2 separate regions of the Homo sapiens genome follow, and region 1 is linked to region 2. The links are contacts of gene promoters, found by promoter capture Hi-C in human tissues and cell types (Jung and others, 2019). All regions are on one chromosome and are shown on one strand. Each heading gives the region's core, a stretch centred on a gene start or on the middle of the fragment in contact. The rest is flanking DNA. Distances are from core to core; before and after follow the strand shown. Region 1 overlaps SELENOI (selenoprotein I). Region 2 holds the start of OTOF (otoferlin).

What was found. Contacts are between HindIII fragments. The study calls those that stand out against the background at their distance.
Region 1: a contact is called between a fragment that was not itself captured here and the fragment with the promoter of OTOF in region 2, in 2 of the 25 tissues and cell types used here (mesenchymal stem cells and mesendoderm cells).

The regions. Positions count from the first base shown.
Region 1 is chr2:26,388,737-26,391,763 of GRCh38, forward strand. It overlaps SELENOI (selenoprotein I), which reads left to right. Exons shown (of 10, transcript NM_033505.4): 10 at 269-3,027. The coding sequence ends at 367. Among named protein-coding and RNA genes, the nearest start is that of DRC1, 12 kb to the right of the region's middle. The HindIII fragment of the contact is 3,586 bases long and covers 1-3,027 here.
Region 2 is chr2:26,557,188-26,560,097 of GRCh38, forward strand. It overlaps OTOF (otoferlin), which reads right to left and starts at 1,569. Exons shown (of 47, transcript NM_194248.3): 1 at 1,306-1,569. The coding sequence starts at 1,384. RefSeq lists enhancers at 930-1,723, 1,724-2,516. The HindIII fragment of the contact is 11,571 bases long and covers 1-2,910 here.

The DNA of each region.
Region 1 (3,027 bases), core at 5-2,504, 170 kb before region 2:
TTTTTCAGATTTGGATGTGAATTTGAGTGCTCTGGAGGGTTCTCAAGACTAGATTTTAGTTCTAAGTCCTAACTTTCCCATGTTAGTTCTAGTACTTCCATTTAGCTGTCTAGTTCTATAGCTATCCTAATCCAGAAAAACCTTTTCAGTATTTCTCATGATTTTTGCCGTGTCAATAAATTGTTATCTCTAGGGGGTAAATTCTGTGTGCTTTTAAAAAACAATAAGGTACATATTTGTCACTGTCTCATGTTCTGATTTTTCATAGGTAAAGCAGCTGAGCAGCCATTTTCAGATTTACCCCTTCTCATTGAGGAAACCAAACTCAGATTGACTAGGAATGGAAGAAAAGAATATTGGCCTGTAATAATCTTTCTTTGGGCACAAAGAAGTACTGTAAATAAATGCTTGTAAATATTTCCTCCATCACCATTGAACTAGACTGATCTGCTTGACAGACGTGGGATCTCAGTATGGTACTTGGACAGCAGGAATGATACATATAATCTGAACTTGGGAAATTTTGGACCTACTAACTCTAAGCCTATTTTATTTTTTATAAAACTATGTGACATTTTGGTTGAGCAGAATGTACGTTAGACCAGCAAAATGTTCCTAATGGTTCTAACTTCGTGAGTTTACAATGTTGTGATTCATGCAGGGTTAAAGATGCTTTGTTTTTATTTTTTAAGTACCAAAATTGGTTTCAGAACACTGATAACACTCAGAAAACCACAGTGTGTTTTCATATTTGGAACTTTGTAATAGCGGGAGTAGCAGTAGTCCAAACCTAGTATAGGGAAAGGATAAAAATAAGTCACCTTCACCAAGAGATGCCAATGATTACCAAACAACAGACAGTTGCCAAATACTGGTTTCTCTTTCCCCTGAAAATGGCTTTTGTTCTCAAATGATAAGAGAGCTAATACATTTAGCTAATATTCTAGCTCTCTTTATTATGGAACAGATCTTGATAGATGGTTTAATTTTCTCCTAAAGAGAAATAATCAGTTGAGAATTTGAGAATGGGTTGTAATTATCGCTCACCCATTGGGATGGTTCATTGTTTAAATATGGCATTTTCCCCCCTTCAGCTGCAGGTTCCTGAGATTTGGTGCCTGTGAGCTCTGATTGTAGGAATGCATGTGACAGTCCCAGTCCTATGGTAATGACTTAGGAGGAATGCAGATAAAAGTACCTTGTAAGATAAATATAAATTGGAGTTAGGAATTTCATGAACCTCACTATGACCAAAATTAATTTTTTGATTCAGTTTGTCTGTCTGTCTGTCCTTCCCCTCTCTTCTTTTTTCAGGGTGAGGTGCTGTGTTTCTTATTTCATACGAGATAAAACAGAGAGAAGTTCTCTCTTCTCCAGCTTGTCCATTTCCCCACTTGAAGAAAACTTTTGATATATATGCCTTACTGAGTACATGCCCCCTTTAATGTTAACATGACTTGGAGTAATTTCTGAGGTTTACTGACAAACATAAAAATCCCTTTAATTGTAGTGTAGTTGTTCTATAAACCATATTTTTTCATGATGTGGATATTTTCTTCTATTTCTTTGTCTTCATTTAATTTGGTGGTGGTGAACTTTACTTGCTGATTTTCTTTTATTTTTCACTGAATGAAGTTTGTGCTTGAATGAAGAGTGTATCTTAAACCCCCTTTTTTTGGACAGGCTGCACTTGGATAAAATAGGCACCACTGTGTTGATATGTAATTAAATTCATAACTATTTATGAATGTGACCATTGTTAAATTTAATTATAGTGTATTTCTTTCTTGAATTTCAGTCTGCTGCTTTGTAAAAAATAACTGTAATTGATATTTCATTTTTAAAATTTATAAATTCCAATCATTGTCATTCAAGTTATTAGAAATGAGTCACGGCACTAACTCATGGTTCTATACTCATTTTAAGAAATTGTAAAGGTTGAGGTGTATTTGGTGACTTTCTCTGAGACACAGATGAACGTTGGAAATAGATGAGAAATGGATGCAGAATAATGCAGATAGTGATCCCATGTTTGTTAATTGCCATCATGGAAGTCAGAGAATTAACCAATTAAGTGACGGTAACTATTTTTTGTATACCTTGTTCTTTGTGATCTATAAAATTAAACTGGATAAAATGTTAATTGGGGGTAGGGAAAAAGCTTTGTTTTAAGATTTCTAAGCTAATTATTTTACCGTTTTGTTGACCTTGTACACAAGAATGAGATTAATCTGTATTATATAAGAAAAGAACTGATAAATATTTATAAAATGACAAACTTGGACCACAGGCTTTCTTGACCTTGTACAGTATAGTAAAAATACCCTTTACTTCTGACATTTTAAGGTCACGTCCTATAGTTTGGGGGCCCTTTTACTTCAAAGGTGTGTTTCTGCCCTCTTTTGGTTGTATCAAATTTATTTGAAAATTGTTTTGTGCTGTACTTTATGACTTGTTTCCCTATGGTGGTAAAGAATGATGCCATAGTCAGTTTTATTGACATTGTTAGATGAAAGAAAAGTAGCTGTCAACAAGGGGAAAGTGAAATTGAGCAATTCACTGTTTCAGGATACTTGAGGATCTTTAGTGTACTGCTGACTCTTTTTCTTGTTTTGTCTGCCATTCTTGAAAGTGCATCTTGAGAGCCCCCATTTGTTGTGTAGAGATATAGCAGCTGAAGCAGGACTTCATTCCAGATAGCTGTGTGCATTTATGTCATGCCAATTACTATAACATTTCCAAAGTATGAAAGGTCTTTCAGGCTTATGCATGATATTGTGGGTGACTTCATGCCCCAGCCTTTCTCCCCAGCATACAGTGAGCTGCCTTTTGGGGAGCAATGCCATGATAAGGAGCATACGTGCATGTTTTCCGTACTTTCAGAATAGAGTGCCTTAGCTAGGCCAGAGGCTCGTATTGTGTTTCTGCTGACCAAAGTTGCATACACCTGTAAGAAGTGTCTTTTTAGGTTATGGTATTAAAAAAGTCGTTTCAGGCTTATCAGATAATAATTCTCCTATATTTGAG
Region 2 (2,910 bases), core at 319-2,818:
TCTGCCAATGGTCTCTCCCATCCCTTCCAACAGAGGTGCAGACACTGTGTCCAGCCTGGGCCCCAAGGCTCACTTTGCTCTTTAGTATAGGGGGGTCCTCTCTGCCCCCTTCTCACCACCTCGTCCCCATCCCACTCTCAGACCCCTCTCTCGGGAGAAGGGGCCATGTCTAGTGAGAAGTACCCCCAACCCTCAGGGCTGGGCAGCAACCACATGGAGAGGCAGAGGTGGGTGGTGAAGGACAGAGTCAGCCTGGCCCTGCCTTTCCCCACTTAAAATGCTCAGGGGCTCCGCTGTCCCCGGGGTCAGGTCCAGCCTCGCCTCCTTGCCCTGCTTGGCTCTCTGGCCTCCGCTCCTGCACCCTCTCTGAGCTGTAGACACATGGAACCTCTTTCAGTTCCAGAGTTTCAGCTCCTCTCTCAGCTCTGGGCACACTGTTTCCTCTGCCTCCTCAGTCCTTACCTCCTCTCCTAGCTCCCACCCGCTGGTCCTTCGGGTATTAGCTGAGTGTTACTTCCTCCGGGAAGCCTTCCCTGACCACCGGTCACCAGCCTGGGTGAGGGTGCTGCTTCTGTAGCTTGCATGCTGCACCCCCACCTTCTGTCTCACATACCTGTCCTGCTTGTTCCACGCCTGCCCAACAGATGCAGGCTCCTTGGGGCTGGGGCTGGGTTGTGCTCAGCTCTGTGTTTCTACCCCTATCCTTGGGACACAGTAGATCATAATAAATGGTCGCTGAATACAGGAGTGAAAAGGATGAGAAAAGACCAGACAGAAGAGAGGCGAGGGGCTCCCGGGGTTCCCGCCCATGAATAGATCTAAAAGAAGCCAACAGTGTCCCCCATCACTCTGGGGCCCAGGGAGCTACTGGCTGCCTGGTTTCTCCCAGTCACCCTGGGTGCCCCAGGCTCCATACCCGGCCCCCACCCTGTGCTCAAGGAAATCAACCTGCAGGAGAGGGAGAGAGAGAGAAGGAGGGGGTCCTGGGTCTCCCTGAGCTCAGGGATGTGGTCCTCACTTCTGCCTCCCCAGGCAGAGGGCTCTGTGCCCTGCCCGGGGAACTGGCATGTTGGCAAGCACAAGGAGACACAGGCATGGAAGAACAGGGGACCCTGATTTTCCAGAAATCACAATGGCCAGTCAGTCCCAGGCAGATGACTACCTGTGAAAAGGCTCGTCGCCCCAGCCCCTGCTAGAACTTTTCCCACCCATCCTCCCAGCCCTGTCCTATCCCCGGCCACCTCCAGAGCATGGGCTGGTCCAGCTCTCAGAGCTGGCGTCCCTCTGAGACAGCGGCTTCCCTACCTCGGAAAGTCACTTTGGCGATCCGGTCGCCCCTGCCCCGCAGCTCCGAGACTGTCTTGAGGTGGATGAGCAAGGCCATGCTGGTGTGGGCTGCCTGGCACTGCCAGGCAGGAGCAGCGGGAAGGAGCTAGCCGGTGGAGCACGGCTCACACGCCTCTCTCTTCTCTGCCGCTGCCTCCTCCTCCTCCTCCCGACCCCCCTCCGATGCTGCCCACAGAGACCAAGGCAACCAAGCCGAGCTAAGCTGCTCCTGCAGCGACTCACAGAGCCTCACAGCCCCCGCCCCTCCAAGTTGTCAGCCCAGCGTGTGTGTATCGGTGTGTGCGTGTGTGTGTGTGTGTGTGTGCACCCAATGTGCAGCCTGGGAGTGCGGCAGAGTTGGAATTCATTATTCAGCAGCCGCCGGCTCCCAGATAAAGCTCTGTCCAGCTTCAGGTGTCTTCTCCCAGCTCCTGGAAGGGAGGCTCTGCCCACCCCTCTGCAGGGCTCTGCTGCTTCCCTGCTAAGCAAGCCCTGCCACCAGTAGTGGGCACAGAGGAGTGGGCATGAGCATAGGTAGGGTGGATGTGGGGCGGGGGGCACTCCCACCCACAGGGGCACACTACAAGAAGAAGGGAATGTATTTGTCCACCTACGCCCACCTCTTCCCTGCTGGAGACTGTGCCCCCAAGAGGCTGGGCCCTGAGCCCTGCCCTGGGATCCCTGTTTCTGAATCTCAGGAAGCAGAGAGGCTGGGGCTGCTGCCTGAGGGGAGGCTCAGGACCAGGCCATGCATGATGGAGATGGCTGGTTGTGGAGGCAGCAGAGGCTTATGTGCTACCAGGGGCCATGTTTAAGGATCCAGGGCACTAACCTAGCCCCACCCCAAGGCTGGGGGTCAGGCAGGCTAGCGAAGGTAAGCCAGGCTGATGTTTGCTTTCCAGCCAGAGGAGCAGAATTGAATGGCCTTCTGCTGTTATAAGCTGCTAGGGGCAGGAGAAGGGATGTCTATAGGGAAATTTCTAAGGACCAAAAGAGAACTGCCCCCTCCTGTCTTCCAGCAGCATACACCAAGGAAAGGGACGCTGGGGGCCAGAATCCCTGATGCTGGAATCTGTGCAGGGTCATCTGCAGCCTTGTTCTTGCTATTCATTCTTGGTGGAATGCCCTCCACCCCACCCTGGACTCAGCTTGAGTGCCTGCTCCTGGAGGTGCCTCTGTACCCGCACCCCAGCTGGGTTGGGGTCCTCCTCTGTGCTGCTCCTGCCTCCTCTCATCTTACTGAGTCCTGGGGCTGCTTCCCTTGCCTTTTCCCCTCCTGACCTCAGGAGGGCCCTGGAGCACAGCATCCCTCTACCCCAGAGCCCCACATGGTATCCTGTGCACCGTAGGATGCCCAATTACTGTTGAAAGGATAAAAGAGTGAGCTCAGGGATCTACCTGAAACAGAGTCTAAAGGTTAAAAAGAGAAATACTAATTTTTCACAGCATGGTAACAAGAGGTTACTTCTTTTGAATTCTGCATTCCAAATAACCTACAGTATGTCCCAAGAGCCTTCTTTCCTCCTTCTAGATATTTCCTTGCTACTGTGCCCTATTTTTCTTTTTCTACTTACGTTTTTTTCC